7 separate regions of the Homo sapiens genome follow, and all the other regions are linked to region 1. Evidence: promoter capture Hi-C in human tissues and cell types (Jung and others, 2019). All regions are on one chromosome and are shown on one strand. Each heading gives the region's core, a stretch centred on a gene start or on the middle of the fragment in contact. The rest is flanking DNA. Distances are from core to core; before and after follow the strand shown. Region 1 holds the start of ALDH1L2 (aldehyde dehydrogenase 1 family member L2). Region 2 overlaps CHST11 (carbohydrate sulfotransferase 11). Region 3 overlaps CHST11 (carbohydrate sulfotransferase 11). Region 4 overlaps CHST11 (carbohydrate sulfotransferase 11). Region 5 overlaps CHST11 (carbohydrate sulfotransferase 11). Region 6 overlaps CHST11 (carbohydrate sulfotransferase 11). Region 7 overlaps CHST11 (carbohydrate sulfotransferase 11).

What was found. Contacts are between HindIII fragments. The study calls those that stand out against the background at their distance.
Region 2: a fragment that was not itself captured here is called in contact with the fragment with the promoter of ALDH1L2 in region 1 in 1 of the 25 tissues and cell types used here (lymphoblastoid cells).
Region 3: a contact is called between a fragment that was not itself captured here and the fragment with the promoter of ALDH1L2 in region 1, in 1 of the 25 tissues and cell types used here (mesenchymal stem cells).
Region 4: a fragment that was not itself captured here is called in contact with the fragment with the promoter of ALDH1L2 in region 1 in 1 of the 25 tissues and cell types used here (lymphoblastoid cells).
Region 5: a fragment that was not itself captured here is called in contact with the fragment with the promoter of ALDH1L2 in region 1 in 1 of the 25 tissues and cell types used here (lymphoblastoid cells).
Region 6: a contact is called between a fragment that was not itself captured here and the fragment with the promoter of ALDH1L2 in region 1, in 1 of the 25 tissues and cell types used here (lymphoblastoid cells).
Region 7: a contact is called between a fragment that was not itself captured here and the fragment with the promoter of ALDH1L2 in region 1, in 1 of the 25 tissues and cell types used here (lymphoblastoid cells).

What each region holds. Positions count from the first base shown.
Region 1 is chr12:105,082,393-105,086,066 of GRCh38, reverse strand. It overlaps ALDH1L2 (aldehyde dehydrogenase 1 family member L2), which reads left to right and starts at 1,609. Exons shown (of 23, transcript NM_001034173.4): 1 at 1,609-1,678. The coding sequence starts at 1,631. RefSeq lists a silencer at 1,302-1,731 and enhancers at 2,232-2,471, 1,966-2,766. The HindIII fragment of the contact is 4,053 bases long and covers 1-3,438 here.
Region 2 is chr12:104,620,782-104,624,455 of GRCh38, reverse strand. The region is part of intron 2 of CHST11 (carbohydrate sulfotransferase 11); the gene reads right to left. Among named protein-coding and RNA genes, the nearest start is that of MIR3922, 31 kb to the right of the region's middle. RefSeq lists an enhancer at 1-703. The HindIII fragment of the contact is 4,525 bases long and covers 1-3,674 here.
Region 3 is chr12:104,639,121-104,642,794 of GRCh38, reverse strand. All of the region lies in intron 2 of CHST11 (carbohydrate sulfotransferase 11), which reads right to left. Among named protein-coding and RNA genes, the nearest start is that of MIR3922, 49 kb to the right of the region's middle. The HindIII fragment of the contact is 7,114 bases long and covers 1-3,674 here.
Region 4 is chr12:104,669,870-104,673,543 of GRCh38, reverse strand. All of the region lies in intron 2 of CHST11 (carbohydrate sulfotransferase 11), which reads right to left. Among named protein-coding and RNA genes, the nearest start is that of MIR3922, 80 kb to the right of the region's middle. RefSeq lists an enhancer at 1,529-2,133. The HindIII fragment of the contact is 7,265 bases long and covers 1-3,674 here.
Region 5 is chr12:104,692,525-104,696,198 of GRCh38, reverse strand. All of the region lies in intron 2 of CHST11 (carbohydrate sulfotransferase 11), which reads right to left. Among named protein-coding and RNA genes, the nearest start is that of MIR3922, 100 kb to the right of the region's middle. RefSeq lists an enhancer at 338-477. The HindIII fragment of the contact is 5,274 bases long and covers 1-3,674 here.
Region 6 is chr12:104,732,209-104,735,882 of GRCh38, reverse strand. All of the region lies in intron 2 of CHST11 (carbohydrate sulfotransferase 11), which reads right to left. Among named protein-coding and RNA genes, the nearest start is that of MIR3922, 140 kb to the right of the region's middle. The HindIII fragment of the contact is 7,646 bases long and covers 1-3,674 here.
Region 7 is chr12:104,749,044-104,752,717 of GRCh38, reverse strand. The region is part of intron 2 of CHST11 (carbohydrate sulfotransferase 11); the gene reads right to left. Among named protein-coding and RNA genes, the nearest start is that of MIR3922, 160 kb to the right of the region's middle. RefSeq lists enhancers at 1,040-1,089, 1,079-1,656. The HindIII fragment of the contact is 6,008 bases long and covers 1-3,674 here.

The sequences.
Region 1 (3,674 bases), core at 360-2,859:
TTCTCCAAGTTTTAATGATGGTTCTTTTTTGTCTCCTTACTCTCTTAAACACATTCATCCGTTTCAACAAGTTTTTTTTTAACAAGTTATTTTTTATTTTATTATTATTTTTTTAAAGCTCTGGTTAGTGCTAGATACTGTAAATCCTGATTAATCAGACATGGACTTAGCTTGCAAGGAGCTTCCAACAGAGACGTTAATAGGTATACAAATACCAGTAGCAGATTGAGACAGCCATAACAGATGCATAGACAAAGATTATTTCCTGTTAAGAGGAGTGAACAATTATTTATGGGGAATAAGGAGACTAAGAGAGAAAAGAATCAGAAAAAAGCGCCTCCAGGAGGCAGCATGTAAGCGGTACCTTTCAGAAAAGAAACGGTCGTGCCAAGATAATTACAAGTGACAGATGACAAGCTTTTCTGGGAAACATTGTCCAAGAAGGAATAGGCAAGAACTGCAGTCAAGCAGAATTACATATGCAAAAGAGCAGTGAGAAATAAGAGAAAATGGCAAATTGCAGACGGCCCTGAATGCTGGGCTAAGAAGTCTGGCTTGAGATAAACGTCCAGCTAAAGCAGGTCTGAGCGTTTTTTCCAGAGAGGTGAGGGAGAAGGGCACGTATCTATTAGGTTGATGCAAAAGTAATTGCGGGTTTGCCATTATTTTCAGTGGCAAAAACCACAATTACTTTTGCACCAATTTATTTATTTATTTTTAAGACAGAGTCTCGCTCTGTTGTCCAGGCTGAAGTGCAGTGGCATGATCTCAGCTCCACTGCAACCTCCGCCTCCCCGGCTCAAGTGATCCTCGTGCTTCAGCCTCCCGAGTAGCTGGGACTGCAGGCATGCGACATCACGCCCGGCTAATTATTTTATTATTTTATTATTTTTTATTTTTAGTAGAGACGGGGTTTCACCATGGTGGCCAGGCTGGTCTCGAACTCCTGAGCTCAGGCCATCTTCCCTCCTCGGCCTCCCAAAGTGCTGGGATTACAGGCGGGAGCCACCGCGCCCGGCCTACCGTCCTACGAGGTAGGCATCAGGATCCCTCCACAGCGAAGGCGCCCCCACTACCTATCTGTCTACAGGCGTGCCTTTTACGGGCTGTGCTATGGACAGCACTTGGGATGTCAGATTGACCACTAATAAGGTAGATCCGTATACACTGCTGCGGGGCTGAGTAACTGGTAGAGGGTCCCACAGTTAGAAAGCACCTGGACCTTGGCTGGAATTGGCGGAAAGTCCAGGCAGCGGAGAGGCGCGGTCCCTGGGACTGGGTGCGCTCTTGGCACCAGGGTCAGGGCCCACAGGCTCCAGGAAGCCCACGCGCTCCGCCGGGTCGCACCAGGTTGGCTGTCCGAACGCAGCCAGCTGGCGGGGCGGGGCCTTCCAGCTGGGGGCGGGGTCTTGACAGCTAGGGGGCGGGGCCTTGCAGCTGGTAGGGTGGGGCGGGCCGCGGGCTGTGGGCTTTGGGAGGGGTGCGGACTAGCAGAGGCCGAGAGCGGCGAGCCGCGAGCCAGGCAGTCCGGGGCATCCAGACTGCAGGCCGCGCCCAGGCCGCGCCCAGGCTGCGCCGCCCGCCTGCCTCCCGCGCTGCCGCGTCGCCAGTGCTAGCGCTCCTCTCCAGCATGCTGCGGCGGGGCAGCCAGGCGCTCCGGCGCTTCTCCACTGGCCGGGTGAGTCCGGCCCGGGCGAGCGTCCCGGCTGTCACCCTGTCCTGGTTTCCAGACTCCGGGGCGGGAGGGCCGGGGCGGTGGGGCTGGGGATGAGCAGCGATGCTTAGACTTTGCTAAACACCAAGACAGCGTTTAAAACAAACAAACAAACAAACAAAAACAGAGAGACCTCAGAGGAGGGCTTGGGGAGGGTCCCGGATGGGAACTGGCACGCAGGCCATTGTCTTCTGCCGGGAGGGGGCTGAGGATGCAGTTTTTGGACGTGTCAAGTCTGGCTGGGATGGCAAGGTGGGAACAGTCACTTGGTAAGGAGGACAGAGTCTGCTTCCTTTCCTTTTTCACTTCAATCATGAGATCCCTGGTCAAGAGCTGGAGCCATATGGAACCGAGACTGTCTCCTGGAGGAGGGGAGTATCAAGTCAATAGGGTCCTCGTTGGCGGCCTGGGAGGTGTAAGCGCTCGAGACTGGCACGCAGGGCCGGTTCAGATAATGGCACTCAAAGCTGATGGCTGCAAGCTCAGTATTCCTGAGCTGAGCTGCAGATGGCAAAATTTCTAGAATTGCCAGGCGCTGCAGAGGCAGCCACGCTGGAACACTATTCTACTGTAGCACAAGAACCGAGCTCTGGCCCAGCCCCGCGCCTTGGAATTGCATCAGCTCCTCCAGAAATGGAACCGAGAGAGGACACGTTGCACTGCGGTGCTGCCTTCAGCACCCAGGGGGCCTCGGGACTGTTTAGGGAAGAGAGAGAGAGAAAAAAAAAAAATAAAAACTGTCTTATGTATCGTATCTTTTATAGGAAGTACATAAAAGAATTTGCTTATCGATTCTTTTTCTCGGCCATGCCAAAGCCATATGTACATATGTATATATTCAGATGTAAAAAACTTGGAGGCAGAGAGAAGTCTTGAGTAGCACCAAAAACTGGCCCAAACTTGCATCAAAGGAAAAGCTTTCTGTATCCCAGACAACCCCAAATAATAAGAATTCGTTTTACTCTTTGCAACCAGTTCTAGTTACTTTGAGGTATAGTCACCTTTTATAAAACGAGGGGTGGGGGTGGGGAAGACCTGCTCTGCTAGGACTTTGGCCTGCTCTCCTGGACCCCTCATTAGCTTCCCCCACCACGTGGCACATGGGATCCCAGATGGATAGCACAGAAAGCAACGGGCTGTGCCCAATGCCTGAGCCTGTTTTGTTGGCCTCCTCTGTCAACACCTTTCACTGACTTGTCTTTTTTGGTGACCAGAAGGAAGTCTTGCAGAATGAAAAGATTTTGATAGTGCGGTTTGCATAAGATTTCAGTAATAAAAGGTAAACATCTCAGGTGGCAAATGGCATAAACAAAACTATGGATGTGGGGAAGAACTGGCGTGATCAGGGTCTAACTGTACGCAGGGGTGCATATGGAAAAGCAGTGATACTCATGGCTGGGAAGAAGACAGTTTCCTCAGTGGTCGAAAGGAAGCTACTGAGTGGTGAATGAAAAATGTGGGATGTTTTATCCTGTAGAAAATGTTCTGGACTGTGTTTTATAAGAATTATTCAAAATCAAACAGATACATGGCTGGTGGAAATATAAAATGGTACAGCCACTTTGGAAAACTGTTTGGCAGTTTTATATGTAGTTAAACATAAACCTATCATATGACCCCGGAATCACACTCCTAGGTATTTACTCAAAAGAAATGAAACCTTATTTGCCCGCATAGAAACCTGTTTATTGATGTTTCTAGAGGTTTTATTCATAATTGCCAAAAACTGGAAATAAATTGTCCTCAGCTGGTGACAGGATAAACAAGCTGTGGTATATCCATCCATACAATGGAATTCTACTCAGTTGGGGGAAAAAGGAATGAACTACTGATGCATACAACATGGATGGAACTCAAATATGTATGCTAAGTGTAAGAATCAGACTCATAATGCTACATATTTTATGATTTCATTTATCTGACATTTTGGAAGAGTAAAACTATAGGGACAGAAAAAAGA
Region 2 (3,674 bases), core at 378-2,877, 460 kb after region 1:
ACTTTGTACAAAGCAAACCACTTTGATTCCAAGAAGTCCTATTAAGGGTACCAAATGCACTGCCCACATGGCCCGTATGCAATCCTGAGACCACACATTCAGTCTTAAGTACCCAGGGTGTCCACTCCTTCCATCCCTGTCTTCCTTGCTGTGACAATCATTTAATACCCATTGTTTCAAACCGTCTCCCTTCTTTTTCTTCTCCTGCCGATTATGCACCAACCCCTTTTCAGACCTCAAAATTGAGGTTTGCACATAATTGCTCTGACAATTCCCCTAGGATCAGAGGCCGGAATGGAGTGCATCTTAATGAGCTGCATAATTGCTCCTTGAAATGCTTTTCTTCAGCAGCCATTCTCTGAGATTCCGCTCAGCAATTCATTTTCCACATACCTTCCCTCCATCAAGGCTGCAGGCTTCACTCCCCCAGCCTGAGACACTGAGAACGAGTGCTGTGTTTCTCAGGAGCCCCCATTCATCATGGTCATTCTGTTCATTTGCCATTTTCAGAATGAAGATCAACTCAGACTACACAAGGCTTCGTGGCTAGAGAAACATCACATGACAGCAACGGGAAGCTTTCAGAGGCTGGTGTGTTTCTCATACCCCAAAACAAGTTGAAAGTGATTGAAATTAAATAACCCTTTCCTGATTTCATAATGCAACTGCAGACAGCAGAGACGGTGAGATAGAGCCCAGTATTTTACACCAAGGGCACATGAACTTTTTTTTTTTTTGAGATGGAGTCTCACTCTGTCACCCAGGCGATCTCGGCTGGGTGACAGTGGCGCGATCTCGGCTCACCGCAACCTCTGCCTCCCAGGTTCAAGCGATTCTCCTGCCTCAGCCTCCCGAGTAGCTGGGATTATAGGCATGTGCCACCATGCCTGGCTAATTTTGTATTTTTAGTAGAGACGGGGTTTCTCCATGTTGGTCAGGCTAGTCTCGAACTCCCAGCCTCAGGTGATCCACCTGCCTCGGCCTCCCAAAGTGCTGGGATTACAGGCGTGAGCCACTTCGTCCAGCCCACATGCACTTTTATCTACCACGGGTGGCCTGGACCTCGACCGTACATCAGCAATAAAACACTAATAACCAAATCAGGCACGGTACTTTACAGTTTACAAACAGCTTCCATTGTCTCACCAGCTCTTGAGGGAGGCATTATTATTCCCATTTTTAGAGGCTAAGGGCCTGACTCTGGGGAGCCTTCCTGACTTGCTCAAGAACACCCTTGCAGTGTGGTGAGGCTGGGACTTGAACTCAAGACCTCTGGCTCTCGGCACAGTCTAAAGCAGGGAACCCCTGTGGATGAAATCTGGCCACGCCCATTCATTTACATATTGTCTTGGCTGCTTTCATTCACAAGGGCAAAGCTGAGTAGTTGCAACAGAGACCTAAAATGTTTGCTGTCTGGCCCTTTACAGAAAACGTCTGCTGACCTCTGGTCTAGAGATTAATGCACCAACTTAGTTGAGCACTTTAGACTGCTTCAGCAGGGTGAGATGGCTTTGGGGGTGCTTTGGCTCTTAATGCATGGACAATCATGAACTGAACACTGGACTGGGAGTTAATTGACCCTTGGCTATTGCTCTGGCTGCTGCTGCTAATACGCAATTACACACTTTTACCATGTGCTTGGCATGGGTCTCAGCCGTTTATTGCATTATCTTCATTTAGTCTTCACAACAAACCTGTGAGGTAGGTACATTATCCTTACATTGGGAGATGAGGAAACTGAGGCACAGTGAGGTTAAGTAACTTGCCCAAAGTCACCCAGCTAGTGCCTGGCAGGGGTGTCTGCTCTGAACCGGCATGCTCTTTGCCCTCTCTAGGCTCGACGTTCAGGTTTAGCCTTACCTGACATTTATTAAGAGCTTACTTGGCTGGGGAGAGTTATTTAATACTCTGATCTTCCTTCTCTTTGCACTGTCTAAAATGGGAAGATAATATCTCCCCTGCCAACCTTGAGAGAATTGTGAGTTTCAATGAAGCTAGTCTCTATGCGGGTACTTTGAGAATACTGTAAGAATTATATAATCATTTCATGAAGGAAAATCTTGACAAATATAACACCATTAATTCCAAATATTTACTCCGTCCTTTTAAAAAAAATAAATGTACTGACTAAACAGTGGTAGTACCTCCTACCTATAGGAACCCATCCACAAAACTGTGATCTGATATAAATTTCACGTTGAATGTGTGGTTGTCAAAGAGTTCTTATGAATATGTACAAGGATTTTGGTTATCCACAAAACTGTGATCTGATATAAATTTCAGGTTGAATGTGTGGTTGTCAAAGAGTTCTTATGAATATGTACAAGGATTTTGGTTGTATCAACTCAGCCTATTCCCTGCCGGTATGTAAGCCATGATGTGCCTGTGGGGGTCACCGGGGTTGCCGGCTTATACCTAGATTTGCCAGGCATTTTCACAGTACCTCACTTGATCCTCAAAACAATTCTGAAAAAGGCAGTATCACCACAACCATCAGCATCCCATTTTCCAGACTCACCACGCTGCTGCCGGACTGCTTACCTGATGTCACAGACCTGGCCTCTCCCAGGCCTCCTTTGGACCCTGGTCTTGGGAGAGGGAAGCTTAGCTCCAACTAAAAAGGGGTGTGTGCATGTTAGTTTTCTATTGCCGCTGTAACAAATCACTACAAACAACTGCTTCCATTCTGAAGGTCACAAGTCCTAAAGTCAAGGGGTTAGCAGGCTTGCGTTCCTTCTGGAGGCTCCAAGGGAAAATCTGTTCTGTGCCTTTTCCATCTTTTACAGGTCACTTACATTCCTAGGCTTGTGGCCCCCTTCCTCACATCACTCCAAGCTCTGCTTCCATCCTCACAACATCTCTTTTCCTGGCTTTGACACTCCTGCCTCCCTTATCATCCTGATGATTATACTGGACCCATCCGGATAATCCAGGATAATCTCTCCATCTTAAAACCCTTAACTTAAACTGCCTTTGCAAAGTCCCTTTTGCCAAATAAGGTAACATATTCTTATTGCTTGGAAAAGGGGCAAGGCATTCTGCCTACCATAGCTTGGGAAGCCGTGACTGTAGGCCTTGGGTTTTGAATGGCCCTGGGCCAATGGCAAGGTCTAGGACAGCACCAGAGAAAGACAGGATGTCTGCAGCCCATCGCCTTGACTGGGTTTAACAGGCCGGGCCACACATGTTCATCTTTGAGGCTGGCTTGGCTTTTATTCTCCAAACAGATCCTTTGCCTAGGCCTTGATCAAGATGCCCCCACAAACTGGGGGCTGTGGTCTGTGAGACTCCCCAAGATCCCACTGTGTCAAGCTTGAGATCAGCAACAACGCTGCTTTTGAAAGTCTGCCAAGGCTTTGGACAATGATATTTAGCAAGTTAAATTTGAAATGAACTGATAGAGACAAGCAGGGTTTCTGAGGCTCAAGAAAGACTACACTCTGCGCTCAGTATTAGATAACAAATGGCAGCAATTTGCCATGGGTTGTTTTTGGCAAAGACTTATCTTAACAAGATACTTATCACTTCTTCCTCCCTGGTTTAGTTACACCATTAATATCCTGGGGAAGGAGACTCAATTATCAATTGCAATTGACTGTCATTCTCCTAGCTCCTGGTTTTTATTTCAAGATTATCTAGGCCTGAATCCCAATCATTTTTGTTTTGTTTTGTGT
Region 3 (3,674 bases), core at 462-2,961, 440 kb after region 1:
CCAAAATAATTTTAAAAGTTAAAAACCACCTATATTCCAACCACCTAGACACAGGCTTGAGATTTTGTTATGTGTCTTCTCAGAGATACATAACAGGCTGGGTGTAGTGGCTCATAGCTGTAATACTAACACTTGTGAACGCTGAGGCAGGAGGATCGCTTGGGCCCAGGAGTTCTAGGCCAGCCTGGGCAACATGGTGAAATCCCATCTCTACAAAAATACAAAAATTAGCCAGGCATGGTGGCACACGCCTGTAGTCCCAGCTACTGAGGAGGCTGAAGTGGGAGGACTGCTTGAGCCTGGGAGGATGAAGCTGCAGTAAGCCACGATTGCGCCACTGCACTCCAGCCTGGGCGACACAGCAAGACCTTGTCTCAAAATTTAAAAAAATCAAATTAATTTGTAAAAAGTAAAAAAAGAAATGCGCATAGGTACTCTGTCTTTACAATGATACAATTCTTCTATGCATGTCGCTTTGTAATTTTTTTCATGTATGTCTCATGAGCATTTTTTTTCATATTAGAGATCATACTCCCATACTGCCATTCTAAAGGCTGCACAGGATCCCATAGTATGGATATACCATCCTTTAATTACTGCCACATGATATTTTGATCATTTCTAATTTCTCACTACTGTGAACAATACTGAGATGAGTACTATGTACCTACCCAGTTCCTCATTTGGGCTTCTCAGAAGTGTCACTAATGACGTACAGGATCAGATGACTCTGTTGTAAGGATTGTCCTGTGCACCATAGGACGTTCAGCAGCATCCCTGGCCTCAACCCACTAGAGGACAGTAGCAGCTCCCCAGCTCTGACAATCAAAACTATCTTCGGATGTTGCCAAATGTCCTCCCTGGGGTGGATGGGGTGCAAAATCCCCCCTGGTTGAGAACCATGGCTTTAGGATAAACTCCTAGAAGTGCCAGATCAAGGTGATTACAGACTTTTTATTTTCTTATCCATTGCTAAATTGCCCCCAGAAGGTTGAGTGCCCCCGTCAGCACTGGGGAACAGCCATCCTCCTTCTCATGTTTGCTGGTAGGAAGGTGGGTAGGGTCCACCCAGTTTTGTTTTTAATTAAATTAATAGATTCTCTTTTTTGAGCAGTTTTAGGTTGACAGAAAAATTGAGTGGAAAGTATATAGAGCTTCCATATACATACACTCATACCTTAACCCCCAGTTTCCCATTATTAATGAAGCAGGATACTTCCCTGACCCCTTTGCAGGCAGGAACTGGAGTACATGGGTGCTGGCAGGGGCAAATTCCACTCACTCACTGTTCCACCCCTCAGAGGAGGGGGAACACAGGTGAATGGGTGCAGGAGGTGGGGGTGAACGCTTTTGGGTGCCAGCAAGAGCGAACTCTGTACTGACCCTGTGGCAGCATCTAGGGGAGGGTGTCCATGACCCCTGAAGCCCCGGAAGAAGTGTTACAGTGCCCTTTTAGCTTTGCCATCCATGGACAGATTAAGTGTTAACAGCTCAGTGGATGGTCCATGTGACAGACACCCTTTTGCATTCACATTTGTGGCACCTGAGTTCTTGTCTGGCATCCAGGAGGAATGAGGTCACACAAATGACTTGAAGATGGCCAATGTGGGGGATTTTATTGCCAGTGAAAGTGGCTTTCAGCAGGAAGGGGAGCTAAAAAGGGGAAGGAGTGGGAAGGTAATTTTCCCCTGGAGTCCAGTGGTCCCCGATTGGACTCATCTCTAAAGCTATGCCATCAAGCTGTCCCTCTGAAGTCAAGCTGCTTCTGACATCCAACTGTAGTCTCCAATGTCCAGCTGCTTCTCCCCTCTCTGTTGGCTGAGCCTGGGGTATTTATGGGCACAGGATGGGGGTCGGGGCAGGCAACATTTGAGCGGGAAAACAGGGATGTAAGGTCTCACTTTGGGCTACAGTATTAGGCTTTTCAGCTTGAGGGTAGGGACCTCGCTGGGGACCAACCCTCTTCTGCCCAGAATTTCCCTGCCTCCTGTCCCTATCATTAATATCTTGCATTGGTGTGGTACATATGTTGTGACTGATGAGCCACTGTCAATGCATTCTTATTAATTGAAGTCCATAGTTTACATTAGACTTCATTCTTTGTGTAATGTCATGTATCCACCATTAAAGCATTGCATAGAGTAGTTTTCTGTCCTAAAAATCCCTTGTGCTCTTCCTGTTCATCCCTCTCCCCACCTCCTGAAACCCTGGCAACCACTGATCTTTTTACTGCCCCCATAGTCATTTACTGCTGTTTACAGACATTTGCCAACTTTTACAGAATGTCATATAGTTGGAATCATACAGAACGTAGCCTTTTCAGATTGACTTCTTTCACTTAGTAATATGCACTTCAGGTTCCTCCATATCTTTTTGTGGCTGGATGGCATATTTCTGATTGCTGAATAATATTCTGTTGTATGGATGCATCATAGTGTGTTTATCCCTTCACCTGTATAAGGGTATCATGGTAGCTTCCAAGTTTTGGCAATTATGAATAAAGCTGCCATAAACATTTGTGTGCAGATTTTTGTGGATACATAAGTTTTTAGCTCATTTGAGTAAATACTAAGGAGTGCAACTGCTGGATCACATGATAAGAGGATGTTTAGTTTCATAAGAAACTGCCAAACTGTCTTCCAAAAGGGCTGTATCATTTTGCATTTCCACCCGCAGTGAATGAGATTTCTGTTACTCCATGTCTTCACCAGCATTTGGTGTTGCTGGTGTTTTGGATTTTAGACATTCTAATAGGTATTAAGTGTTATTTCATTTTTGTTTTAATTTGTAATTCCCTAACGACATATGATGTAGAGCATCCTTTCTTATGCTTACTTGCCATCTGTAGATCTCCTTTGGCGACATCTGTTTGTATCTTTCACCCATTTTTAACTGGGCTGTTTGTTCTCTTATTGTTGAATTTAAGAGTTCTCTGTATATTTGGTATATGAGTCTTTTTTTAGGTATGTGTTTTGCAAACACAAGCTGGTTGAGACCACCGACCTCCAACTGGGCCTGCACAAAGGCATGAGAGGTGACCTTTTGACATCAGAGGGCCAAACACTACTCCCTCAGATCATGTTAATGCCACCATTTTCTGAACTCTTATTCCGTGAAGGGCAATGAAGCTTGACCACGTATGCATGGATTGCCAATTACCTCATGTTCTCTTACCCACAATCGCCTTTCCCCATGCCTCAGGCCACCTTGCTCCTCTATCCCATAAAGATCCCTAAAATCCCATCTTTGGGAAGGCAGATTTGAGACCTGTTCTCCTACCTCCTAGCTTGGCTGCCTCATGAAAAAATTACTTCTCTTTAGGAAAATCCATCATCACAGTGATTGGCTTACTGTGTGTAGGCAAACTAATGTGGTTGGGTATCAATTGTATGGATATACCATATTTTGTGTATCCATTCACAAGCTTATGGACATTTGTTTCCAGTTTGGGGCCTTTAGGATTGATGCTATTTATATATAGTCCTTGGGCTGTGACCAGTGGTGTTAAAGTATTTTGCCATCTTAATCTTCAACCTGTAATACACAAGTATGTCTTATTATACTTCAAACTATGTGAACTGATACCAGAAATGCCAACATGGGTTATGTGACTCCAGACCTGAATTTCAAAGCATATTAATCAGAAGTTCCTGCCACATGCCCTGCAAACTCCA
Region 4 (3,674 bases), core at 490-2,989, 410 kb after region 1:
CATGAACTCATTTAATGCTCATAACAAACCTATGGGTAGGTACTATTATCATTCCCATTTTACAGGTGAAGAAACTGAGGCCCAAAGAGGGTAAGTTACTTGTCCAAGTCAAATAGCTAAAAATAGGTGTCACCACATGTGTATTTTTGAGAAAATGCTCTAGGCTCACCCTAGAAAGCCTCAAGTCAGTGTTAATCCATGTAACAAACCATTCCATTAACAGGTACAGTAGGCTGAATGGTACCTCCCCAAAAGATAGGTCCACATCCAAATTCCCAGAATCTGGGAATGTGACCTTCTCTGGATAAACGGTCTTTGCAGATGTGATTAAGCTAAGGATCTTGAGATTATCCTGGAGTGTGTGGGTAGGCCCTAAATATTAATGACGTGTCTTTATAAGAGACAAAAAAGAAGACAGAAGAGGGGGCAGCAACGTGTACATGGAGCAGAGAGATGGGGCCCCAAGCCAAGGAGTTTGGCAACTGGGAGAGGCAAATAATAAATCTTCCCTTAGAGTCTCCAGAGGGAGTACAGCTTTGCTGACACCTTGATTTTGGACTTCTGGCCTCCAGAACTGGGAAAGAATACATTTCTGTTGTTTTAAGCCACCTGGTCTGTGGTGATTCATTATGGCAGCCTCAGAAATGGTGGGGCAGGTATGGCCAAGCATCAGGGTTTCAGAGTAATCCTCACGCCTGGGTGTCTGAGTGGTGGCAGCAGGAGAACAGAGGTGCCATGCGGGAGGCATGTGAAATCTGGGGGAGGCTCTTGGCTTGGAAAGTGTAGGAGGGAGAGTCACAGTCAGAATCACGAGCCAGTTTTCCAGCCAAGAAGGCTGCCCAGCAGAGCATACGCTTGTTGCCATGCACTGAGCTGCCCGTCATGGTGAGTAATCTTGCCCCATTGGGAGGTTACTCCTCCCGAGGTCCCTTTGGAGGTGGTGAAGCCAACCATCCTCACATGTTCTATTCCTGAAAGAGGCCAGGGCCAGGCCAGCTTCCAGCTCTCAGAAACACCTGCTCGTGGAATCAATGGCCACAAGGCATGGGATAGCTGATAAAGGGGTTTTCCTTCAAAGTTTTTCATTCTCTGCAGTATTTTGGCAGAATTTGCCAGAAAGCAGAAAGCAATGGTCTCTTTATTCTCCATTTCTGGAGCTATCTGCTCCTTTCGCCCCTCTCTGCAAAGACACTTGCCACAAGACAGCTGGACAGCCGGGCCCCTAATGGAGTCCTGCACACACATCACTCACACGAGCCATTACTCCGCAAGCCAGAGCTGACCTTGGGGAGAGAGGGACAATCCCCTCTCTCCCACACGGTCCACCCCCCTGTGCAGGCCAGACAGGTCTCAGGGAGGTAGGTTTCCAGAAAACGCGCTTCCCTGACATTCCTGGGCATTTTCATTGTCAGGGATGGAGAACTCGAGCTACCCAAATTGTATCAAAACATCTGAAGTCAGAGCAGAAATCTTAATGCTCCTTCCTCCAGGGCTGATCATTACAATATTCCTTAATGGGTAGGACATGGTCACTGACGGGTCAGAAGGAATGCTGCCTGGGAACTGTGCCAAGGCCTCCTGCCAAGTGCCAGTTTTGCCCCATCCCCCAACCACACCCCAGTTATGGAGAGGAAACTGATGAGTCACTGGCCGATTTGCTAACTTCAGTGTCCCAATGCCACACGCCTACAAGGTGACAAAGGGGGTTTCCATTTGGCTGTTGAAAGCCTCTTCTCACATTATGCAAGAAGAGGGCTGGGGGCGGGGAGGAGAGAGAGACAGAGAGAGAGAGAAAAAGAGAGAGAAAGATAGAGATTGGGTAAAATGTCTAAAATTCAAATCATAAGTTCAAGGGGGACTTTCTGTAAGTAAAGGAATCTTTGGTGAATAAAGTATCACCTCACTTTAAACAGTGGCTTTGCTCACACTGTAGGCGTTCTCTAGGCTGCCTGAGATAACTGTCCTGGCCCGTTTGCTGCGAAACCTGTGGGGGAAGCGACAGGACTTCCTAGACCGATCACAGTGCAGTGGGCTAAGAGCTTCCATGATCAAAACCATGATCGCGCTGGTAACAGTAATGATCAGTAGACAGGCATTCCAAGCACTTGATGTGGCTCTCCTCATCGAATATTCTTAACAACCCTAAGAATCAGGGCAAATACTGACCCCACTCTGCAAATGGGGAAATGAAGGCACAGCAAAACCAAATAACTTGCAGAGCCAAGATTTCAACCAAGCAGCCCTGCTCCAGGCTTTTCCCTACCACCCACACCCCATGCTTAGGATCACGGGCGCAGCAAGAAGCCGTGTCCAGTCAGACTGGAGATCACAAGAGGCTTTGCGGAGGAGGGTGTGCCCATGGCCAGCAGACTAGCTGTCAGCTAAAAGGAAAAGGTCATCTGCTCCCACCCCGTGTTAATGAGAAAAGCTAAAACTAGCCATTCTCTACCATCTCATCTCCAGTATTCCAATCTGGTGATTATGTTTTCAGCTCTGAACATGATCTTAGGGCTTCTCACCTGCCCAACACCCTCAGAAGGCAGGGCAGGAAATCCATATGTGGGAAATCAAAGAAACTGAAAAGGCAGAAGCAGAAACACAAAGCTGGAAAAGAGTGTGTGTGTGAGTGTGCATGTATGTGCATGTATGTATGTGTGTGTTTCTGTTGGTGTATATGTATAGGTGTGGGGGGTATGTGTGGGAGTGTGTGTGAGAATGTATGTGTGGGTGTGTGTTTATGTGGGGTGTGTGTGAGAGTGTATGTGTGGGTGTGTATTGGTTTGTGTATGTGAGGGGTATGTGTGGGAGTGTGTGTGTATATGTGGTGTGTATGTATGATGTGTGTGTATGCAGGGGTATGTGTGAGAGTATATTTGTGTGTGTGTGGGTATGTGTGGGAGAGTGTGCATGAGTGTGAGTGCGTGTGTATGGATGTGTTTGTGTGGGAGTGTGTGTATGAGTGTGAGTGCATGTGTGGGTGTGTATGTGTGGGAGTGTGTGTGTAAGTGTGAGTGCATGTGTGTATGGATGTGTTTGTGTGAGTGTGTATGAGTGTGAGTGTGTGTGTGTGTGGGTCTGAACATATGCACTTGCACATGTGTATATGCTCCATGAAGGAGGCTATGTTGGGGGTGGGTGGAGGAAATGGAGGCAGTTCATGGACGGTCTGGAATAGAAAAGCGGGGAAGGACCACCCTGCCCTGGGTGCCGTGCAGAGGCAGAGATTGCTGGTGGATTCAGAGTGGTGGGGAAGCCCCTTGGTTTTGAGGACTCGCTCTGCTACAGCCCTGTTAGCATCCTAAGGACTGAGGAAGTTGGGAGACCACAAGGCCTCTGTGGGCTGCTCTCACCAGAGTGCACCTGGCCAGGGTGGACCCCCCTTCCTCCCTCTCCCTGTGAGGCCAGCAGGCCCTGCAGCAGGCGGTGTGGAGTCCAGATTCTTCTGACTCTCTTGGCAAGCTTCCGCCTCTGTCCAGCTGTTGGCTTAGGTGAAGCTTTAGGAAAGCGAGAGGGGAAAAGGGAACTTAGATTTATTAAGGGCCTCCTCTAAACTAACATTTGTTGAGTTGAGCAATTTCTATGTGCTAAGCACAAGTATTTGATATGCATCAACTCAGTTCTCTTGCCACCTTTTGAGGGATTGGCTATTATTCCTGACTGAAGGTGAATCAACT
Region 5 (3,674 bases), core at 578-3,077, 390 kb after region 1:
AAAAAAGAAAAAAGGTAGGGTGGGTGGGAGCCAAACAGAAGGCTTGGAAACCATTTCTGTGCTCTTTGCACAGCAAAGGGAGCATGCAGATGGCGAGTTAACATACCTAGGAGGCTCCCCTGGGGTTTAATGTTGCATTGTGTACCCTCAGAACGACTGCTCAGCAAAGGCAAAATAAACACATTTCCTGTGCTTCCCTTTCTCAGCTCCGCAGCCCTGCCAAAGTGGGGGTGGGAGGGTCACATCATTTATTTACACAAGGTCCTCTTTATATGGACACCTCCAATAACGTTATTCATCGGGTTGGCTCCTCCAGGGCTGCCCCACTGTTCCCAGCAGGCCAGGAGTGTGACTTCACGGTGAAGCGTCACGTCCAAGTTACTCTGTACGTGGCAATGCCAGCTACCCACAAGAAAGGAGGGCTGTGAAGGGGGAGCTGGGGCCGCTTCTGGGTAATGGATTTCCCCCGCCCCCATTTCTGGCAAAGAGCTCTGTGGTCACAGAATTAAAAAAATCTATCAATTGTAAGCTAAGGCACATGCTGGGTGGAAGTGAGAGTGAGGGAACCTATTCTTATCACTAGCTCTGAGGTAAGATAGAAATGTCTGGAAGCTCCCCGCTTGCAGCTGGGAACTGTGCCTTAGTCATCTTTATGTTTCCATGGCTTTGCACAAAGTAGGTGCTCAGGAAATGCTTGTTCAATAAGCAAACCACAAGGACACATACACACACACACACACACACACACACACTCATTGTGTTGTGAATTGTGTTTTCATGAGTTTTCTTTCTCTTCACAGACAGTGTCATCTAATGGTTAAGGATGTTGATTCTGGAACCAAACTGCCTAATTCTAGGAACAGACACAAAACCTCTACCTCAGTGCCTTCAAACTATCAGGCCTTGGAGGGGGCTGAGCTGAGGCCCTCCCCACAATAGCTGGCACATAAGGAGCATTCGAGGAATGTTGGCAATTTCCAAATTTAGTCTCAGGGCAAGCCAGTTGGGAAGGCAACACCATGTCCATCTTACAGATGGGACAGCTGAGGCTCAAAGAAATCCTGTTGCTTGTGAAAGGCCACACGTGTTCCTGCCAAATGATGATGCCAGGATCTGAAGGCAGGGTGTCAAGCTTCGGAGAACCCCCCAGCATCCCCTGTGGCTCCATTTCTCAACAGCTGACTCAAGGACCAACAGATCTTTCTTGGCTGCTGTGTTTTCTACCCAGCAAAGGGTCCGGTGGGAACCCCCTCAGCCAAATGGGAGCCACTGACTTCTGTGGGGCCCAGAATCTGACTCAGGCCCAGGGAAATCTGATTCCCACGTCAAAGCTCAGGACTCGGAGCTGCACTGGTTCCGAACACAGAGCAGGCATAAAGTTCTGATGCCAGAAGAAGGCAGGAAACTCCAACGAGCTTTAATCACTCTCCCATCACGAACAGCTCTAGTGACAGCTTGGCCTTTCTATCCCAGGAGTTCAAAGAGTTTCCATCGTTCATTCTCACAAAGGCCCATGTCCCCTCTGCCTCGTTCCTGCTTCACTTTATTGAAGTAACTGTGACCCCAGATAGAATCCTGGCAGGTGACCCAGGTGAAGTCACCCGCTTCGTTAAACTCATTCCCTCCACTAATGCAGCGTCAAAACAGGGGGCTGTGCTCTTGACCACACCCAGGTTTTTTAAGAAAATGACCACAAAAACAAAACAAAACCAAAAAACACATTCAAAAAACATTTTTTTCAAAAGTGGCATCTTGGCCACCTTTGAACTCCGGGGCCTGGTGCAGCGCCCAGTGCAGGATAAGTGTTTGATGAATGCTGAGTAAGAGGAATGAGAAGGCAGCTAACAGCAGCCCTGAGAAGCAGTGCTATTACCCACATTCCACAGGATCAGGAAACAGATTCAGAGAGGTTAAGTGGCTTGGCTGGGGCTGGACTGCGGCTGGAGAGTGGAGGTAGGTTTGAATATGGGTTTTTGCTGGCTCTTGGGGGCTTTTAATGTAGGTACGTCCATGATACAAGCTACCCCCTGCCCCATGGTCTATACAATACCTGGCAAAGCTTTCTGATGAATAGATATGCCATAAAGCTGGGTAAGACCACAAACTTTGAGATAAATGTGCGGGCCAAATCCAGTTAGCTGCCTGTTTTAATATGGTCCTGGAGCTAAGAATAATTTTCATATTTTTACATGGTTTTGTTTTAAGTAACTATACAAGTTCCTATGTAATATCCTTGATATTGCCTCTTGGCCCACAGAATCTAAAATATTTACTATCTGACTTTTTAAGAAAAAGTGACAGATCCTTGATGTAAACTGTATCTCATTTTATATAAGCGGTCCCAGAGAGTAGGGGTGTGCCCGAGCCCAGAGGCCTAATCTCTAGATTGAGGCCTTGGTATCCATTCCATCTCAGCTCTCACCACTATGTACTTCACTTTGGCTAACTCCTACTTATCCATCAATCTCATCTTAGTTGTCGCCTCCTCCAGGAAGCCCTCCCTGACCCCCAGAGACCAAATCAGGGGCCCTTCTCTGTGCTCCCAACTTCTCATGGTCCCTTAAAACCCCCATGTCCTGACACTTGGCATGCTGCATTAGCATTGCCACTTTCTTGTCTCCCATCCAGTGGACTGTAGACTCCACAAGGGCAGGCACCATTCTGTCAGAGTTAAGAAGTTGTGTAATTTAAGTGACCACACATCCTGGTGTGCCTGAGACAGCCTCATCTTATGCCTGTTGACCCAGCACAAATATTAATGACGATCCTTCCCTCTCAAAGTGTCCCAATTTGGAGGATAAATTATATAGTACTGCTACCCTAGGTATGGCATAGTAGCTTAAGAGCATGGCCTCTGGGTTCCAATCTCAGCCCTCCATTTTTCAGTGGTGTCACACTGGGCGTGTTGCGCTGATCTGTGACCCCTTCAAATTTATATGTTGAAGTCTTAGCCCCCAGCACTTCAGAATGTAACTGTACTTGGAGATAAGATTTGGAAAGAGGTAATTAAGATACAATGAGTTCTTTGGGGGGCGGGGCCTGATCCAATCTGATTGATGTCCTTATAAGAAGAGGAAATTGAGACATAAGATATGTGTGTGTATGGAGGAAAAACCAAGTGAGGATGCAGCAAGACAGTCATCTGCAAGCCAAGGAGAGAAGCCTCAGGAGAAACCAACCTGCAGCCACCTTGATCTTGGACTTCCAGCCTCCAGGACAGTAAGACAATAAATTTCTGTGGTTTAAGTCAGCAGTCCCAGCCTTTCTGGTACCAGGGACTGGTTTCATGGAAGACAGTTTTTTTTTTGTTTTTTTTTTTTAATGGATGGGGGTGGGAGGGGCGGGGTTGGATGGTTTCAGGATGAAACTGTTCCACCTCAGATCATCAGGCATTAGATTCTCATAAGGAGCATGCAACCTAGATCCTTGCATATGCAATTCACAATAGGGTTTGTGCTCCTGTGAGAATCTTATGAGGCCACTGATATGACAGGAGGTGGAGCTCAGGCAGTAATGCTTGCTCGCCTGCCACTCACCTCTTGCTGTGGGGCCTGGTTCCTAAAAGGCCAGGGACTGGTACGGGTCTGTGGCCAGGGGCATTAGGGACCCCTGGTTTAAGTCACCCAGTCTGTGATGTTTCATTATGCCTGTCAGAGCAGGCTAATACAGTAAGT
Region 6 (3,674 bases), core at 470-2,969, 350 kb after region 1:
AGACCAAAACAGAGGCTCTGATCACAGCTCTAACTCTGCTGTCCTTGTGCTTTAAACCCATGACGAGTCCCCACTGCCTTCCATGGAAAGCGCAGATGCCTGAGCCTGGCACCCAGCATCTGCATCCTGGCCCCTGCCAGCCCCTCAGGCTCTGTCTCTCAGCAGCCCTGTCCCATGCAGGGCACTGGACCCCTGTGATTTCTCTAGAAGTACTGCGCTTTCTTGCACCTAAGGGACCTGCCCAGGAGCAAGTCCCCTGCCCCCAAGTCTCTCTGGATTTGCTCACTCTCTTCTTCCCGCTAACTGTGGGGCTTTCAGACCTCACCATATTCCTCACTTCCTCTAAGATGATGTCTCGGATGACCCAGCCCCACCACCAGGCTTGGATCAGTCAGGTATCCCCTTTTCCTGGTGCTCCGCCAGTGATCTAGGCTCATCTCTCTTATAGAACGTGGTATTATTATTTTTACCATTATTGCTGTTATCATTCACAGCACAGCCACCAGCACCACCAGAAGAGCTAATATATTTTGAGTGCCAGGTGCCAAGCATCGTCCTAAGCTCTTGTGTAATCACATTTAGTCCTTCTATCACTCCTACAAGGTAGAGACGTATTATATTTCCATTTTATAGATGAGGCAACTGAAACCCAGAGAGGTGGTCATTTAAGTCACAAAGCTAGCCGGTGGTGCAGCCAGGATTTGAACCCAGGTAACTGGACTCTGGAGCTTACTCTCTTCTCACAACATACTGTAACTGTCTGTTTACCCATAGATCCCTACCTCTGCTCCCTGAAGTTCAGGACTGTTGCCTTGCTCATCCTGGAATCCCCTGTGTTGAGCACCATGCCTGCCCCCAGAGCAGGAGCTCAAAAAATGTTTGCAGAACAGAAGCAAACCTGGCAATTTTGCAGTTTGCCCTGATGAGGGCATGTGGTGCCTGGCAGGGTTCACGTAAACAACACGATGATGATACAGAATCACTGTGTTATTTATCAGATAAACGCAGGCCCCACCCTTGTCTAAGCATCCCAAACCCTCCTCCTCTGGATCTCCATATTATCTGTCTTTTGTCTGTGTTCTCTTGCTGTTACTTTGCCATAAAGCTCCCAGGAGGCAGAGCGCCAGTTCTCACAAATCCTCCTCACCCTGGGGCACTTCCCTGAGTGCCTACCAGGAAAGGCTGTTGGTGGCTGACTGGGTATCCCATGGGGTGAAGGGTGGAATGAACTACAGGGCAATAACCCCAGGTCCTCATTCCTCCCCATGGCAAAGTAAGAAACATGGGACTGGAATATCACAGGCCACCCCGTTTTCCACCTGTGACCGTATTCAGAACTAGGGGCGGGAGAAACAGCAGGCATTTGGGTCCGGATCTTAAGGTCCAGCCCTGCCCTTGTTAGCAGCACAGCCTTGGGCAAGCTGACCTCTCTGAGCCCCAGTTTCTGCAACTATACAACGGGCCCGGGGTGAGATTTAAATGAATGACATTCATCTTGTGCCTACACAGGGCCCGGAACTGCTGGTCCTTCAGGAGGGATCGTGCCCCTGTGATCCTGAGGCCAACCATCTTTCTGATGAATTTTGGGGCTGAATTTTCCTCAAGCAGCTCTGTACCTCCAACTATTTCAAGATAGTTGGATTTAAAATTTTTAAATAAGAAAAATAAACAGAAAAGCACGTCCACTTCTGCAGAGAAGCATGGGCTGGGCCTGAGCAAACACCTCCCTGTGCCCCTCTGGCGCCAGTGCTGACCAGGTACCTCTCAATAAGCAGCTCTGCTGGCGGAAGCTGGCCCTCCTGGCAGGGGAAGCCCTGCTGCCTTCTTTGGAGGAGCAGTGCCCAGCCAAAAGCTACAGAGATTGCTGGTGGTGGCGGGGAGGAGGCATAAGCCCACATTCCTGGGCAGCCCCCACAGGCACACACTTTTGCCAGGGCTGGGCCATGGGGGCATGGCAGCCATCATGGCATCATCAGAAGGCTCAAAGCGCCCCCCGCTGGCTTTTCAAAGAAACCAGACCCATCACCCAACTCCTCCTACCTTACAACGTCAAAAGCAGGGTTCCCCTCCTCAGAGGCAGTATAGATAAGATCAGTGCAGCCAACCAATCTCCCTGGGTTGAATCTGGTTCTGCCACCTACTTAATGATGTGTGATCTTAGGCAAGTTACTTCACCTCTCTGTGCCTTAACTTCCTTATCTATAAGGTAGGGATAGTATTAGGTTGGCGCAAAAGTAATTGCAGTTTTACCATTACTTTTGATGACAAGAACTACAATTACTTTTGCACCCACCTAATGGAAGTACCAACCTCACAGAATATGCAAAGCATTCAGAAGACTGCCTGAAACACAGTGTGTGTCAAAGTGTTGGCTGCGACTCCCAACAACTGATCCTGGTTCAAGGGTTCCATCATGCAGCCCTGGGAGGGAGGGTTGAACACGGGGGAACTTGCTGGGTTTAAAGGTGCCCCCAGAATCAGGCAAGGCCCTTTCCTGATACCCACAGTCAGTGTTACTGCCTCCCACAAAGGCCTTATAAATGTCCCCTTTCCTCTTTCTTCCATGCCATGGGGAAATCTTGGATCTACTCTGAGGTCTTTTCCCTGTGGGATCTGGAAAGCTAGACTCCAGATTTTGCATCTAGCAAAAACAGTCTGGCCTCATGCCCTCCACAGCTACATTCAAGATATGTCTTATCTACATCATCTTCCAGTTAAAGAACCCGGTGGCAGAACAGCATTGTGGGAAGAGGACACACCCTGGAGACAAGGTGCATGGGTGGAATCCCAGTGCGTGACCTTGCACACATCACCTCACTGGTCTGGGCCTCAGTTTCCCCATCTCTCATAGGGCTGGTCATACCTACTACACAAGGGTGTGGAGCAAAGATTAAGTGAGACGATGCATGTCAAGTTCAAAGCACAGGGCTGACGCCCTCTTTGTGAACTACATGTAAGGAAATAAGTGCTTAAAAAAAATACTTAATACTTAGTTCCAGAAAGAAAGCTTCCAATTCCGATGTCACTGCAAAATCAGTCCCCATTTGTTTTGCCATCTGGTCTCATCAGTGATTAGGAAGCTGGGGAGGAGGATGCCAAAAAGAATCTGGAGACTGGGGGTATCAATAGATGATGTGAGCACCTGGGTGTGGCAAATGCCCCGGTGACAGCAACACCAATCGGATACCTGACTGAGCTCAGGTTTGGATATGGACACTTGGACAGGAGGGACATTTGGTGGCTAAGCCCCAAAAGGTGTTTTATTACCTAGTGCTGTGCATGACAGGCACTCCCGCCTGTTACTTCACCCTTAGACCCTTAGAGGGTGGGTTGGGGAAGGGAGAAGAGACGTGAGGAGACTCAGAGATAGGGCAAGAAGGTCTATTTCTAATGTGATGAAAGGTGAATTTTTAAAAAGTAAGTAAAATCCATTGATTTAGTTTTCAGGCCATCTATAAATGTCCCTGGGGTCAAAACTTACGAAAACCAGCCACTGAGTCTAGCTTTTCTGCCAGGACCCTGTCAAAGGCTGGGGAGGCCCTTAGGGAAATAGGGATCACTGCTTTCATCTTTCTGAGGCACCCACGTCTTTGGGAGAAGCCTTGCTGGGGTCTGGCTTATGGCACATAGGCGAACAGAAGGACAGGCTCCTGGCACAGCCAGGTCCATGCCAG
Region 7 (3,674 bases), core at 603-3,102, 330 kb after region 1:
ATTTGTACTAAAAATACAAAAAATTAGCTGGGCGTGGTGGCGGGTGCCTGTGATCCCAGCTACTCGGGAGGCTGAGGCAGGAGAATTGCTAGAACTCAGGAGGCGGAGGTTGCAATGAGCCGCGATCGCGGCACTGCACTCCAGCCTGGGCGACAGAGTGAGACTCTGTCTCAAAAATACATAAATAAATAAATAAATAAATAAATAAATAAGTAAATAAATTTCCCAATTGTTTGTTGATTATCATAAAGTTCTTTCATAGAGCTGTACTGTGACAAATAATGTCCCTCCCAAATTCATGTCCACCCAGAACCTCAGAATGTGATTTGATATGGAAATAGGGTTTTTGCAGGTGTAATTAGTTAAGATGAGATGATACTGGATTAGGGTGGGCCCTGACCCAATGGGTGGTGTCCTTATAAGAAGAGAAAGCAGAGACACAGAGACACGCAGGGAGAATGCCACGTGAGGACAGAGTCGGAGACTGCAATGATGTGTCTCCAGGCCAAAAAATGCCAAGGACTGCCGGCCACCACCAGCAGCTGGGAAGAGGCAAGGAAGGATCCATTCCTCTGGAGCCTTCAGAGAGAGCATGCCCTGCCAACAGCTTGATTTCAGACTTCTGGCTTCCAGGACTGTGAGAGAATACATTTCCTTAGTTTTAAGCCACTCAGTTTGTGGTAATTTGTTATGATGGCCTCAGGAACCTAAAAGAGGAGGTCAATCATTCAAGTGATAACTTTGAGCAAGTTGGTACTAAACTATAAGTTTAAAGAGAAGATAACATCATATAAGAGGCTATTTTATATAGAAGAATAAGGACAGTGTATTAGGGTACTTGTAAAGTACAGTGAAGATAAGATTTGAAATAAGAAGGTCTGGGCTTGATCCTGGGCAAGAGCCTTACCCTTCTGAGTCTCAGTTCCTCTATTTGCAAAATGGGGATAGTACCACCTACCCCGCAGGGGTGGTGACTACAGCAAATAAGGTACATTTCAGCATTCAGTAAATAAGATCAACTCTAGTACAGGATTTGGACAAGGTATGGCACAAAACAGGTAGTTAATACGTAGGCATTCTTTTATCAAAGAAGAAAAAAGAAATCTGAAAAAGAACGCCTGGATAGGAATCTCAAAGACAAATTTCACCAGCTCTGTAATTTTGTTGCAGGTCAGCCCTAGGTCACTGGATTCAATTAATAATTATTTTGAATAGGAAAACTCTGACCTTTGCAATTCATGACTTCTTAGCCGATGTATTCATCACCCTAAGAGAAGCATTCATGGGCCTCTTGGGCTATTGAACAATGCCATTAAACAAAACCAAACCTGTGTTTAAAGGAAATGAAAGGACTAGGAAGGAAACAGGGCCCATCAATTCTGCCATTTGAATCACTAAGGACAATTCTGAAGGCAATAAGTTACTAAGATGAGCAGAGAAATAAGGGGATCTCCCCCTCATCACCCTCCCAACCTCTTTTGAGCTGGAGACAATTTTCTGGCCACCTGAATCCCCAGGGAGGTAGCATGCCAGTTAATACTGCATTCAGGACCACAAAGGCAGGAAAAATGGAAATGACACCAGCATATCATTTTACATTCAGTTGCAGAGGCGGAAAATAACTCAGTGGGGCTTTTAAACCTGGTATTTGAGGTTTCTTTCCCCTCCATTTCCTTCTTCTCCACAGCAGTTTAAGGGGCAAATGGTGCACCTGCCACAACAAGGCACACACAGTTTCCCCTCAGGAAGACTCTGGGGTAGGGGTCAAGAGAATGCTTCTCAAATCCAAGAGAGAAATTCACCTGGGCCTCTACTATTAATGTTTTTAAAAATACATTTTAATTGGTTTTTATAATTTTTTAATTTTAAAATAATTTCAGGTGACAGTAAGCACCTTGTCTCAAAAAATAAAAATATTTTCAGACTAGTGTTGATTTAAATTATTAAAAATAAAATGGTACTAAAATGTGCACAAGCCAGGCACGGTGGCTCACATCTGTAATCCCAACATTTAGGGAGGCTGAGGCGAGTGGATCACCTGAGGTCAGGAGTTCGAGACCAGCCTGGCCAACATGGTGAAACCCTGTCTCTACTAAAAATGCAAAAATTAGCCGGGCATGGTGGCAGACACCTGTACTCCCAGCTACTGGGGAGGCTGAGGCAGGGGAAAATCACTTGAACCCGGGAGGCAGAGGTTGCAGTGAGCCAAGATTGCACCATTGCACTCCGGCCTGGGTGACAGAGCGAGACTCAGTCTCAACAAAAAAAAAAAAAAAAAAAAAAAAAAAAGTGCAGAAATATAAAACCAGGTACACAACTACAAGTTCAAAACAAACATAAACATTCAAATGCACAACATTAACATGAGGGGTGATGTTTTACTGGAACTAAAGCCCTGCCTGAAACCACGCAGATGCTTGCTCACTGCTGTGGGTCAGGGTGTTTGGAGTAGAGCTTCCCTTTCTGTGCTGCATGAGGACTCGGTTTCCTTACCACTTCCTCATTCCTAGTTACTGTGAAACTCGGCACGCTGGAATCTCATTTGACCTTTACTTGGTAAAAGCTCATCATGTATATATTTTCCTTTTCTGCTCATTTCCAATTAGCCCAAGACAATAAAAATGGAGCTACACGGAACCACCAAGAACATCAATGAACACAGGCACCACGACTTCATATGGCAGAACTAGGTTATCCGGGGCAGACCTGATGATCCAGAAATGGATAATCATTTTTCAAAAGATTATCACCAAAATAAAAACACTCAATCAATAAAGTTCTTCTATGGAACTCTAGACTCCTGGGGGTTCTATCTGTGGACTTCTTGAACCTTGGTTTATGAAACCTGGAGTAAGGACAGCCCTGGACAGGCCAGACGGAAGAGAGGAATTCTTTGCCACCATGTCAAAATGGGGCAGGAGAGATTTCTGATGACAGCCTGGCTCCACCAGGGCTCAGAAGAGCTTTTGTAACTGTCATAACCCCTCAGCAACTAACACGTTCCCTGAGCACAGTTCCGGAACTACTGATGGGACCAACAGCTCTGGGGACATCAGGAAGACAAGAGAGTGAAGAAGACTCACTCATTAATGAAGAAAAACCCGTTCCCTCATAGTAAAAGAGAATGCCCAAATTTTCCAACCAAGTTTGATCAATTTTACAAAGAAAGGACTTGTTGATCTGACAATTATCTGAGCTGTGAGATCAATGTCTTTCTTCTTACATTCCCTTTCTCTCCCCTCTTCTTGTTTGCTTTCTCAAAAGGTTTTGAAGAGACCATAACAAAGGACATATGTGCAGTATGAAATAAAAATAGAAAAAAAATATTCTATGAGGGCTGGGATTTAGAATCTCAATTGGCTGTGGGCTTCCTAGCAGCAAGGACAAAAGGGGAAATATGATTAAATCTTCTTGCTCTAGTTATCAGAAAAGAGAAACATTCCAGTTGTTTGGAGAGGAACATGCACAAGATTTCAAAGGACTCGGAAAATTCAGTGCAGGAGGGAGATTCTTGGATTCAGTTTGCCTGTGTTGGGGTATTTGGAGGGTTGCTTTCTTCAGCTGACTGAATAATGCCACGATTCACTTCCACCTAAGGTCAACAGAAAGCTTCCTCATGTATGGAACACTTTCACACATACCACATCCCATTTAAGGAACCCGTTGGGACTCTT